Regions from separate parts of the Homo sapiens genome. Here all the other regions are linked to region 2. Evidence: promoter capture Hi-C in 16 types of primary human blood cells and fetal thymus (Javierre and others, 2016). All regions are on one chromosome and are shown on one strand. Each heading gives the region's core, a stretch centred on a gene start or on the middle of the fragment in contact. The rest is flanking DNA. Distances are from core to core; before and after follow the strand shown. Region 1 overlaps LOC105379066 (a long non-coding RNA gene). Region 2 holds the start of MEF2C-AS2 (MEF2C antisense RNA 2). Region 3 holds the start of CCNH (cyclin H).

Region 1 (4,565 bases), core at 36-2,535, 1.2 Mb before region 2:
AATGTTGTTACTATGTTTTATTGATGATGAACAGAAATGTAAACTTACCCAGACTATGCAGAAACATGTGAACAACAATTCATTCTCCATTCATGTTAAATTTCTCGTTTTGAATTTTAATGCATAAGCATAGAACAACATGACTTCCAACTATATTTTCTCTTGAACTCCTTAGGCTATAATCACTGCACACATAAAACATGATCTTCTTAAAAGTTGACTCTCTCTTCCTTCTATACACTGCCACCAGAGGAGAGAACAGATGAGGAGTTTGAGGGGAAGGGGAATGGGATAGGGAAAGAATGGTCCAATTTGTGTAAGGAAGTCCATCTTACAAAAGCATGGCATTACCACAGTGATCAATAGCCAGAGTAGATATAGATCCAAAGGCCTTAGAGTAGATAATATGACCAAATCCCAGAGAACTGCCAGACATGGGGCATGGAACCTAAAGAAGGGGTAGGTATCTGCCACAGGGATGGCCAAGGGTACATAGGGTAAAGAATACTCTTCAGTGCTGGATCAAAGGTGGTACTGTGGTCACAACAGAGGTGAGTGTGAGCCCATGTTCTAGACCACACACTCAGATCAAGCTCAAGTTTTAGCAGTAGATTCTTTGTAGCTCTGAGTCCTGAACTTGTCTTACATCGATAAGAGAGTCGGCCAACATCTGCTGCTTGTTGGTTCCATTCTGAAAACTCAGTCTTGTGTGGTCCCACAAAAAGAAATTCTGTGCTGACATTGGGAGTTACCACTCTTCAGTCTGCTCTCTTGGATTAGAGGTCAGGCAGGGGTCTCAGGACAATCCCATCCGCATGAGCCCTAGGGTTCCATGGGCATTTGGTAGAACCCAGGTCCTGGAAAGTTGGTTGGAGAAATACCTTAGTGGAGAAATGGAGAATGAAGACCTTGTGTTTTATGATCTGAGCTTGGAGAACCCTGATTGGATGGCACTGCTGGTCTAGCCACTACCAGGCATAGAGGAAGCTACAGAAAATGTAGAGAAAAACACTCCAAAGTGTGAGATCCTTCTAGAACTGGAAATATGCAGGCCTATGTACTATAGTCTGAATGCTTTTGTCCTCTGAAAATTCAAAGATGGAAACCTAATCTCCAACGTGATGGTATCAGGAGGTGGGGCCCTTTGGGAGGCAATTAGGTCATGAGGGCTCCTCAGCATCCAGATAAAAGGTTACTGTCCTTATAAAAGAGACACTATGAGGCTTGTTCCTTCCCTCTTCCACCACATGAAGACACAGCTAGAAGATGTCATCTATGAGGGAAGGGGCCCTCATCAGACACTGAATCTGCTGATGCCTTGATCTTGAACTGTTCACCTTACAGAACGGTGAGTAATAAGTTTCTGTTGTTCATAACATACCCTGTATATGGTATTTTGTTATAGCAGTTTAAATGGACTAAGACATTGTGCCTATCCAACATCTGACACCACCATTTTAATATTTTAATTCCTACTTTTTATGTTTTTAAACTTTTAGACTTGAAAATCAATTTCATTTGTTTATTCTTTGCTCTCTTTCCTCTTTCAAAATATTGCACCACTCAGAATTTAATATTAATTGAAAATGTTTTTTTTAAATGTCAATAATTCCCGAAGATACTATATTTAACCTGGGAAAATAAAAGACATTCTATGTCTTTGGGATGAGAATTGAATCACACCAGAAACTACACTCAATAAATAGTGCTTCAATGTTTCCCACACTGCTGTTTAAATATGTATACTTAATAGTTCTATTTTCTAATTTTATATGGATGACTCAACAAATCTGTAGTTGCTAATTAAAATAATTCTGTAGTTAAGTAAAATTTGCATATAATAGATGTATTATCCTATCAAAGTATTAGACAAACTTTTGTTTTTATAGAAGTTTGTTGTGATCATCCCCATTATTTTATTTACTCCTCACAATAAGCTAATAGGTAGATACAGGCCATGTAAATAGCTGGCTTTAATAGATGAGGAAACTAAGGTGAGGGACTTAAGGTCGTCAAAGGTTATATATTTGATGTCACAGTCATGAACAGAACTGGGCTTGCTGGACTCATCTGATGCTCTTGTGCTTCCAGCAACTACCATGTTCTTTCCCCAGGCATACCTATCATGATTAAGATAATGTTTATTCTGAGTCTTTTTGATGTTTATCATGTCAAAAAAGATAACATGTCATTTTTCTTTCTTTCTTGATGCCTATGTTGCTTCAAGGGAATATAGTTTTAATATTCAATAGTGAATATTAAATACATCTCTTACACATGATATATGACAAGAAATCTATATTCTGCATTCAGCGTTGTACTGTTACCCAACATTATGATATATGTGTCAATGCAGAGAACACAACGGATTGGATCCTCCTGCCAGTCACCTTTTAACTACCTAAATTTCACAGCTTCTCAGGGATGCAGGCAGAAGAATCTTGCTGCTTGTTAGCTTTGATGCCCCCATGTCCCTTTCTTAATTCCGAATAAAGAACAAAAAGATTAGTATCCTTATGTGGTTGGTAACTGATAAGCAGAACAGTTTTCCCCATTTTCAAAAGAAGTGATGCTGTCATAACCTGCTCCTAGGGTTCCAACAGGACTTCCTGTCATTCTACAAGATTCCAGGGATAGGTTCATAATGATTGCTTAGGTGTGCAGGCTGACATTATAAAGCTAGGGGATAGTGCAGTGTAGTGGGGAACAGCAAGAGTTCTGGAGTTAGACGAAACTAGGCAGACTCTTACTTTGCTGTTTACTGCTTGTGTGATGTGGTCAAGTCTTGTACCTACATTGAGTTCATTTGGACCTACATCAACATGTTTGTTTTTTTTTAAACTAGAATTTCCCAAATGAAAATCATTTAGTATTCTTGAAATGACTTGAAACTGGTTTCTCTGACAGTAGACTCTTATCATCAAAATCTCTAAGGTTCTAACTATGATTTTATGATAGCCCATGTTCATCTATAGATGGTTGAGGGAGAAGTAAGTTCAATGAGTTCTGGGAACAGAAATCCAACATTTTACACAAGTCCTTTCTAGTTCTTTGTTTTCTTTCTTTTTTGATGATATAAGTTCTGTTTCAACAATACTTTTTCACAATATCTAATGTAATACATAGGAAAAAGAGATGTGGCAGGGCAATAGAGTATGGTACAAAAAAGTAGATGTAAAACCCTTTTATAAAAAACTTTTTTTAAAAAAATAAATCATGTTCATGAACTTCAAGGCCTCTCAGAGAAATGGTGCTGCTTGCCAAAGTCCTCTGCAGAAGTGTGTGTGATAAAAGTGTTACAGGTCCAATCTGTCTTTATGGCCCTGTTCCTTCCTTCTTCGTCACAAATACCACATACAGTTATTAAATTATATCTGAATTTATAAAAGATTGAAGAAAACAAAAAGCAATGGAGAAAGAATTGTAAATGAGAGTGACATGGCTTTCCCATGGTCCAAAGGGAAAGTGTCCCAAAATTTCTACCTTTCCTGCAAGGCCTCTTAGGAAGGTGTCCCAGTTTCTAACCTCATTCTATCATCAGGTTTGTAAGAGTTTCTCCTTGTCAATTTCTTTATCTACTGTTAGAAATTTTATTTCTTATCCACAAATTAGTCTTACTCTAGAATTTATTTCCCTCCCTCCCAGAAGTATACTCTCCCAAGTATGAGTTGTAATAATTTCATGGGGGCTCAAGAAGGACAGTGCAAATTTGGCATTCACACTCCAAGTCTTAGAGAAAGATCTAGAATGGGTGTGGCCTTGACAAGCCTCATCTCTAAAAGTCTCTCCAATGGTGTGAGTTGCAGATGGGCATCCTTAATCTTAGTGTTAAGTGGGTAGCTGTTGGATTACACACACACACACATACTCTCTCTCACACACACACACTCCCTCTCTCACACACACACTGTCTCTCACACACACACGCACACACACACCACACAAATGCATACACATCTCTCTTCTGGGCAAATAATGTTCAGGGACAGGAAAGACTAAATCCATAAGGAAGAAGAGAAACGAGTTTCTTCCCTATAATTTTCAAGGCCACTGTTATCCAAAGTTTGTTCTGGTGGTGTTAACATTTTTTTTTTCATTTACTTCCTCATTTCTAAATTGCATCTCATAAGGCTACTGGGTATAAAGTAAATAACCAGTTCAGGTGTCTCATTATACCTGCTTTCTTAGCTGTATGTGACCAAACCAAAGTGTATACATTATTGCTCTTAAATAATGCACCATTCTCTTTTCTGATCTTGGTGGCAGATGTTAGTGAAGAGGCAAGGAGAGGGGAATAGATTTTATTTTTCTAGTAAACAATTATAGAACTGAATTTCTTTGCTTAATGTACATATGGGGGTAATGTTTGTAGTAATGGTCAAATAAAATTTGTTTTTTAGGATTAGAAGATAAAGACACTGTGTGCTTAAGAGTATAAGGTAACTGCTAAGCTTGATATGGAATTTTGGCTGTGCAACTAGACCTCACCTAACACAAATATAGCAAAGAGACCAATTATATGCACTTTCTTAAAGGATAAAATTTTGTTTAATGATAGATTTAAT
Region 2 (3,958 bases), core at 1,268-3,767:
TCTTTTTTCCTCCAGTTTTTTTTTCTCTCTCTTGGTTTCTTAAGATTCTTCTTTTTTTTTTATTACAGAATCTCCCTGTCGTTTTTCCAATGCACTGTTTTATGTAACTTGTGAGTCTTCCTAACCTTCTTCCCCTTCTTTCCTCTCCTTTCTTAAGGACTCCCTTTGCAATTTTATTTACAAACTTGGAGAATGACCTTTTGACTCGCAGACTTTTTTTTTTTTAAAGGTCTTTTGGTTCAAGTCCCCCTTCTTCACTCCTCCCCGTTTGTGTCGTGGTTGTTAAATGTGTTTAGCTAAAGACAAGCAATGCATTCTAAAGAATTTTATTCTCTAAACTCTAGAGGTATTCTAAATGTACCAGGGACGCGCCATAGGGGTCATCTATTTGAGGAGGAAGAAAAAGCGGGTGTGTGTGTGTGTGTGTGTGTGTGTGTGTGTGCGCGCGCGCGCGCGCGTCTGCCTTCCACGGAAAGAGAGACGGAGAGATGTGGGAGGGTGGGGGTGGAAGTATGCAGACAGAGAAGGGTGGGGGCTTCGAGGGGAAGGTGGGCTTCCTGCAACACAAGCGGAGAGGCTGTCAGGGGTGTGGGCACGGGGGTGCGGGGAGGCGGTGCAGGAATCCGTCCCGCCGAGTGCCGTCGGCCCCTGTGGGCCTGTTTGCGCGCCTGGGGCTGGCCGCATTCTGGGCGCGGGTGTCTGCGTGCCGGGGTGGTAGTTCCGAGCCTGCGCGCGTGCGACCGGGTACGGGAGGGGGAAGAGTGCCGTAAAAATTCAGACGAGTGGCCCGTATGTAAATGCAGCCCGCGGGGAGCAGGGAGGCGGTAATGACAGCCGCTGGCGCTCAGCCCCGCCGGCGGCCCCTAGCTTTCCCGCCAAGTGCAGCCGGAGGACAGACAGCCATGCGTGTCCTTGGCGGGAGAGCCCCCACCCGCCGCGCGCGCCCGACCCCCGCGCACACGCACACACTCCCCTCGCAGGCGTGGGGCCCAATGGCCACGAACATGTCAGGAAAACAAAGCTGGGGCTGCGAGGTGGAACGATGAAACGGCACACTTGGCGGCCGAGGGCAGAGCGGAGAAGTCGCCACCACAGCCACCGGCGCCCCTTTCTTGCCTGCTCGTAGATCTGCCCTCCGGCCCAGAAGAGGCCGAGGACCATTTCTTAGCTGCCCCAGAGGAGGGGGCGAGCAGAGGAGGGGGCGGATGTGCACAGGGAGGTGCCAGCGGTCCGGTGCGCGGGCACGCACACGCCGGCGCGCAGGGCTGCCGCGGGCGGAAGGAGGGGAATGACAAGGCCTCGGCCGCGTCTCGGAGAGGCACTACCTCCGCGCTGAGGCCGCTGAGTTTCAAGTGCAAAACACCAGGCCAAATCCGGCAAGGCGGCGGCTACAGAATGGCTCACACTTCAAGCCTCCTTCCTCAAACAATCCGATGGGAAGGACCTGGCTGTTCAGGGGAAGCCTTTGCTGGCCTCTCTTTTTACATGGGGTGAAGTCGAACCCCAATCTAGGAGCCCTGGCCTAGATGGCTCCGCAGATGAGTCCCAGACGTGGCCATGGAAAGACTGATCTCTCTCTGCTCAGAGCGCCTGCCTCGGTGCTCACTAGCGCAAGCACCTCCCAACACACATACATACATACACACACACACACAACACAGCACTCCCATCACATTAAAACGCGCGCTCATGATCCTGCCGTTAATGAAGCCGAGGCGCATAATGAGTGCACAGGTAAATAGGTACCGAAACCAGAAGACTTCACCAGTCGGCTGGGCGATTTACCTCTCCCTACAGGGAGCACTTGTAGTTATCGTGTTTTAGGAGTGATTTGCTGTTGTCTGTGGTCTCTCGCTCCTCTTCTTGTGGAGAGAAGCCAAAAAATATATATGTTCCGTGGTCAGAGTCTTCTTTCTGATAAGCTACCCGAGCATTGGTCTAAAACATCTGTTTTATCTGTTGATTTTGGTTTGTTGTTTTGGGGAGTGTTGCTTTTCTGAGGGAAGCAAAAGAACGTGTGTGTGGTGGGGCTGGAAGCTCAGGGCAAGAGTCTGCGTGTGCGGCCGGAAGGCTGGCGAGTCTGAGAGCCGCGCGGTGCAGAAAGAAGGCGGCGGCTTGTCCTCCCCCGGGGCCGGCACTGGTCCCTTGGCACCCCGGCCTGGGCTCGGCTACTGCCGCCGCCGCCCGCGCTCTCGGGCTCCGCCGGCTGCCGCTCCGTGTTTTCCCCCATCCCGGCTTCACGTTCAAGGTTTAGCTGCGAGGTCACGTCCATTGACGTCAGCTCCCTGTCTCCCTCTACGTCCGGCTACATTTACATACATCAAGGAAATTAGGGCATTAAAAAAATATGCAAATCCTGCGCGAAGAGGAGCGGGTGCATTCCTGGCGCGATCGCCTTTTATTGAAGCTTTTAATTAAAGGGGCCAGTTGGCGAGCCCCTGAAACAACCGCCAAAACCCCCCAAAAGAGAAAAATAAACGCTGTAGCCTTCGAGAACGGTTGTTTCGGCTCCTGTTCTGTGGGCGGCTGAGGACCGCCGGCTGCCCGGCTCGGAGAAGAACAGGTTAGAGGAGGCAGCTCCAGCCCATGCATAATCAGGGCTCCGCGGCGCCTCCATTCTTTCCTCCTCCTCCTCCTCCTCCTCCTCCTCCTCCTCCTCCTCCTCCTCCTCCTCCTCCTCCTCCTCCTCTTCCACCTCTCCTCCTCCTCCTCCTTCTCCTCCACCTCCTCCTCCTCTTCTTGCTCTCGCTCCTGTTGGTTCCAGCGTGTATTATTTTTAATACTGATGCATATGTAAAGGTATATTTGCATTTTTTAATTTGCGAGAATTTCAGATTTTGTCATTTTATTGGTTCCCTTTCCCTCTTTTTTTTTTTGGAGGATTTTTATTGTTGTTATTTTATTATGTCTATGTGTCTCTCTTGTCCCTTTCTGTCTTTTTTGGCGAGTGTCTGCTGCTGTCTCTTGCTAGATAATATACACAGTTACCTCCCTGCTTCTGTTTATTTAAGGTTACAAATATGCACATCTGTCATGTATGCAATGCCAGCTGTATAACCTCCTGGTTTGGTCATAAAGGAAAATACACATTTTTTTTTCTTTCTTGACATACCTTGATGGGCTGTAGTGCCCATCGCTCAAGGCTCAAAGTTTGATTGTCTAATTAACTTCATATTAGCAGAAACACAGTTCGGGGCCAGTGCTTTCGAGATAATGTATGTATAAGTGAAGTGATTCCAAAGATTTCTAAATAATTTTTGTGCTGATTGCCTGAGAGGTGCGGCATTCCCCGCCCTATTGCTTTCTAGCATTTCTTATTGAAAAAAATATATATATTTTAAAATGGGTAGACACAGCAATGGACAGCCTTCTGCAAGGAAGACATTTTCAACCATGTTGTATGTTGTACCTTATTGGCTGCATTCAAAATTTACTGAGTTTCATTTTTATCTTAATATGGCTGGAAACAAGGCACATTATCTTGACTGAAAAGCATCCTTGATTCCTGACTTTGAAATGAAAGCAAATACACAAATAAAACAATTGGCTATATTAAACCAGTTGATGTGGCTTAAAATATACAGGCCTTGAGTTAGATTTCAAGCAATGGTAATCTTGTTTATAGGATCGGATTCTCTTTCTTGGCAATATAGCTATGCAGCACGATGGCTTTTTTCCACCTTTTAATTCCCCCAAGCTATCATTTAAAAAAGACTCAATCTATAATTGCAAACCCTGAAAGAACAGCAAGTATGCACACATGCAGCTTATTCAATTAAACAAGTCCAAGTACATGCACAGGTAATTAGTTTTCTTATGAATGACTTACCTGCACAGATACTCAGGCCAAGACTCAGCCCTCCCCAATGGCCTTCATGTATAAATATTCACATGTATTTCCCCCTATTTCAAACCTAAAGCGGTATGCCATCTTTCATGCTGGACTATCCAGCATCCA
Region 3 (4,416 bases), core at 1,294-3,793, 1.3 Mb before region 2:
ATCTTTGACATCTCAGATGAAAAAAAATTGTAAATTCTATGGACTTAATATTTTCAACATACTTCAATTTTTTTTTCAACTATAAAAATGGAGATAATTTCCTAGAAAATTATTCTCTACTGGGTCGTAAGCTAGTCACGCTGTATAACTTTAAAACTTAACAGACTTTTACTTAAGATATACTTTTATATTTGGTCTTCACAACAAACCAGTGAGAGAATAACGTAACAACATTTTGAACACCCTCCCACTCTACCTTTTTTATCTTTCTGCTTTTTAATCTCAGCTACCTGTTTCTCCTCACGGTTGCCCACCCCAGCAAAAAACAAATAGGTCCTCAGAACCATACATCTGAAACAATAAGGCAATCTTTTTCACCAAAGATAAAACTCCAGCTTCTACTAATCAAGGCTTAAAAAAATCTTATGGTATCAGTTTCAGCTGGGGCATATGATTACCAATGATGAATGAATGCATTATTTCAAACATTTATTGGGTGTCACAGAGTTGGAAAAGCAGTAGTCTATGTTCTAGTCCCAGTCCTATGGCTCATTAGTTGAGAACTTAGAGGAAAGTAATTTATTTTTTTTCTTTCTTTATGACATTACCTGACCTCAAATTTTTTTCTGACCACAAAGTGAGACTTGAAATACTTTTGAAGATATGATACAGCAACTCATGATTTAAGGCCTGTATTGAAAAATATATAATGTGCCAAAAACTAATTAATTGTAACTAAGGTGAATTTTTAAGACTTGAGTGGACAGGGAATTTAGAAGAGGTCAAATTTCACAAGCCAACTAAAGGACATTATATTTCATCACCACTGTAACTTACCACAACAGATCTTGGCATTGCTGGCTTAAACACCGAACAGAATTCCAATAACCTTTTCTCATAGTATTTGCAGAGTGTCATTTCTTCATGAGGCTCAAGAAAGACTGGATCATTCGGAAGAACCTTTAGATCAACAATTACAACACAAGTTCAATGAATTCAATGAATTAAACAATTGTAAAACATTTTTCTCTATCTAGATTAAATTTAGTTTATATATCCAACGAAGGGTATATATCACGCCTCATTTTCTTTATAGATTCGCTAATCATTACACAAAATAGCTGTAGGAAAATATTTAATAAACTAAAACTGTACCATCATTTCACGACTTTTCGGAATGTCAGCTAGACCTTTGCTTCATTAAAGTATAAACAATCATGACAGGCTGTGTGCACATGCTCACAGTTGTGATATCATTATTTATAAATTAAAAAGTAGACAGACTTTTTAAAATATGATTGGAAAGCTTCCAACATCCGTTTCTCGGTCAGTCATTACGTCACAAGTTGTAAAAAAACAGCAAATGTTTCAATAAATTTCTGTTATTTTAAGCTACCCAGTTTGTGGTGATTTTTTTAAGGCAGCCCTTAGGAAACTAATTCAGGTGCTAAAATCAGTGATATGAAATAGATGTGAATTAAAGGTAGAAAGTAAAGTAACTCAGTATCGGTAATTTGGAGGCACTGAACACTTGCTGGAGTGGAGCTTGCAGGAAAGATTAAACCAGTCCGAGAGCTGTAACAGAAGGAACTTGGCTAGCGGGCCATAGTCCAAACCATCTTCAGTCACTTGGTTTGTACTTGGTCTCTGGTCTCCCTCCCTCATCCAACCCATTCACCACGAGGTTGCTAGAGCGCTGTTTCCAGAACGGAAATCTGATAAGGTTAGCTTCCCATTTTAAATATTTCAAAGGTTCCTCATCCTTTCAGTGGAAATGTTAAACGCCTCACTTCCACTTACAAGTTCCCTTCCTACCCTCCCCAGCCATTCCTGCACAGGTACTCAACTTCGGCCACATACGACCACAAACACGTCCACGCACCATCTCTGTAACTTCTGACCTCCCTCCCACTCTGAACGGTGGTTCTGACTGCCTGGAACTTCCTTTCCCATTTTCTCCGCATTGGCTACTGGGAAAAACCTTCCCCAACATCATCTCTTGACAAGTGAACGGCTCTTGCCACGCACTACCTTAGCACACTACTTACTCTCTTCTTCACTACGTTACAAAGACTGGTTACTTGTCTGCCATTCGACGACGGGGATGGCGTTGTTCGTCTTTGTACCCACGGAACCTGGCAAGGTGCTCGCTTATTTTGATAGAAAAACGCACTCCGCGCCGCAGAGGCAGAGAAACGACGGAGCGAGATTGTCCTGGGAGCCAGAAGAGCTCCCGCAGCTGCTCAGAATTTAGTGACCGGGCAACTGGGCAACCGTTGGGAAAACCTCACCTTCCCGTTGGCCACGGCTTTGCATCTGAATTTGCGGTTGGCGTCAGCCCGCAGTCTTGCCAGCTGCTCCTCGCTGGAGAAGGTCCAGTGCCGCTTCTGACTACTGTTGTGGTACATTATGGAATCGTGACCAGGTCCAGAGGGTCTGCAGACGAGAACCCAAACGCATCAGCGTCCTGGCGTAAAACACCCGTACCCCCACCGAAGATCTCGCGGAAGCCTAGGGCGTCCGGCTAGCCGGCGCTGGCGCGCTGTCGTCACGATTACGCGGCCAGCCCGTACGCAGTTGCATTTCCGGAGCGGACTAGGAACAGACCGTATCCCGGGTTCGTTAGGGCGCCCACTGAGACGTAAGTGGGCGGAGCCTAGAGAACGCTCCTCTCGGTGAGTCTGGGACATAGCTCCGCCCCTTCCAGGCAAGATTTAAAGGAGAAGCGCCCGGCAAGAGTGTTCAAGGGGCATAAACTGAGGGTACGGAGTAGGCAGATGTAAATTCACAGGGGATAATCAGAAATGAGGAAAGGATTTCGTAGGGTGCTCATTTTTAAATAGAGGCCTCACTGAAGTTGACATTTGTGAAAAGGCTTGAAAGAGTTGAAATAGTAGGTTGATCAATCATGTAGGGAGATCACGGGGCCCAGAAAGAATAGGTAAGATCTTCAGGCAGAAGCATTCCTAGCCCTTTTCAGGAAGAGTTTGGAGACCAGTATTCTTGAAGCACTACCAGAAATCTCGGAGAATGGAACATGGCTGAAAAACTTGAAGCAGTGGATGCGTATTGGCCCTTACAGTTCTGCCACTTTTGTTGCCTTGTCTGTTCTTTCTCTGTGCTTTTTTTCCTTACCCTTCTGTTGATAACTAGCCAATCCTCTCCCTCTGTTTTCATCTCTGAAGCCAGGATGTATGGTAGTATTCGTTTTATTGAGATTCCCATTTTCATTGCCTCTAGGGAGCCTTACAGTAAGCTATCATGAAAATTAAGGTATTTACTATTTTTTAAATTAATAGGACTTTCAAAATTGCAGGTGAGGTTCAAAATTTACATGGATTCTGGTTTGTCCCATTTAGGCATACCTTATTCTCTCATGTATTTATTATATATCCAATCCGAAAAATGGATTTCCCTATGGCAAATAGCTTTTCTAAAAAATAAATAAATAAATAAAAAGAAAGAGAAAGATGATGAGACCTAGAGAATTTAGGTCTTGAAAAGCCCACACAGGTAAAAAGAAGAAGTGGCAGGATGACTTTAACTCTGCTTTCTATTAAAATGTTTTTAGGGGCTTAAGAAAGGGAAAGCCTTTTCTTTTTCATTTTTGTTGGGTACAGCTGAGGTTAGAGTTTGCCACAGTTATCTGAATTCCTCAAACTTATGCCATTTGTGGTATATAATTTTGGAGAGCCACACACTCAACATATGTGGCTAACCTGGTCTCATAAATTGGCTAAGAAAAGAGAGAAAAAGAGAAGATCAAAGGGCATGGCAAATTGATTACAATGAATTGTGAACAACCTAAAATGTTGCATGTTGGGGAAAGAATAATTTAAAAGAGAAAAACATAATGGTACAAAAGATAGGAAAATAAGTGATCTAGATAATTAAATGTCTATATAAAGTCTTAGCCTCATGACTGTTATATATATCATATAAATTCTTTTCATTTTGTTTTTCTGAAAGATATTTGACAACTCCTTAGTTTTATGTAAAGGATAATAAAAATAGGCATTTAAAAGAGTTGGCAGACTGTGATTTCCACAGAGATATGAGTAAAATTTCTGAATGTCATTTAGGAAAAATATATGAAAAACCTGGCATTGCTGGTGTAATTTTTTTTAAACCTTGAACAAATTTTAGTCCATGAAAATTGACATTGATCTTATTTTTCAGATGTAGTAGGAATTGGGCTCTGTCTAAATTAACTGTCTGAGGAATACAATTGTTGCTGATGCCCTAACATTAAGGCTCATGTATGGTTTTTCTTACTAAGGTAAGCAGACTGGATGCTGTGACAGTCTCCTACTCAGCCTGTTGTGCGACAGTGTTTCTTTGCTATTGCTACCACAGGAGGCACACTGGAATGCAGAACTTGTGCCTTTACCTATTTCCATTTCTAGTTTCAACTAA

The links. Contacts are between HindIII fragments. The CHiCAGO score rates a contact against its expected background, and 5 or more counts as called.
Region 1: a fragment that was not itself captured here is called in contact with the fragment with the promoter of MEF2C-AS2 in region 2 in 4 of 17 cell types (M2 macrophages, endothelial precursors, M0 macrophages and 1 more); the score reaches 9.4 in M2 macrophages.
Region 3: a contact is called between the fragment with the promoter of CCNH here and the fragment with the promoter of MEF2C-AS2 in region 2, in 13 of 17 cell types (M2 macrophages, endothelial precursors, M0 macrophages and 10 more). The highest score is 24.3, in M2 macrophages.

The regions. Positions count from the first base shown.
Region 1 is chr5:87,431,371-87,435,935 of GRCh38, forward strand. All of the region lies in intron 1 of LOC105379066 (a long non-coding RNA gene), which reads left to right. Among named protein-coding and RNA genes, the nearest start is that of CCNH, 21 kb to the left of the region's middle. The HindIII fragment of the contact is 6,327 bases long and covers 1-4,449 here.
Region 2 is chr5:88,673,701-88,677,658 of GRCh38, forward strand. It overlaps MEF2C-AS2 (MEF2C antisense RNA 2), which reads left to right and starts at 2,518. Exons shown (of 4, transcript NR_146284.1): 1 at 2,518-2,563. The region is part of intron 1 of MIR9-2HG (MIR9-2 host gene); the gene reads right to left. RefSeq lists enhancers at 1,490-1,589, 2,027-2,592. The HindIII fragment of the contact is 5,913 bases long and covers 2,406-3,958 here.
Region 3 is chr5:87,410,387-87,414,802 of GRCh38, forward strand. CCNH (cyclin H) reads right to left here and starts at 2,544. Exons shown (of 9, transcript NM_001239.4): 1 at 2,292-2,544; 2 at 838-960. The coding sequence starts at 2,408. It overlaps LOC105379066 (a long non-coding RNA gene), which reads left to right and starts at 2,596. Exons shown (of 3, transcript XR_948543.1): 1 at 2,596-2,675. RefSeq lists enhancers at 2,171-2,300, 2,331-2,500. The HindIII fragment of the contact is 6,680 bases long and covers 1,305-4,416 here.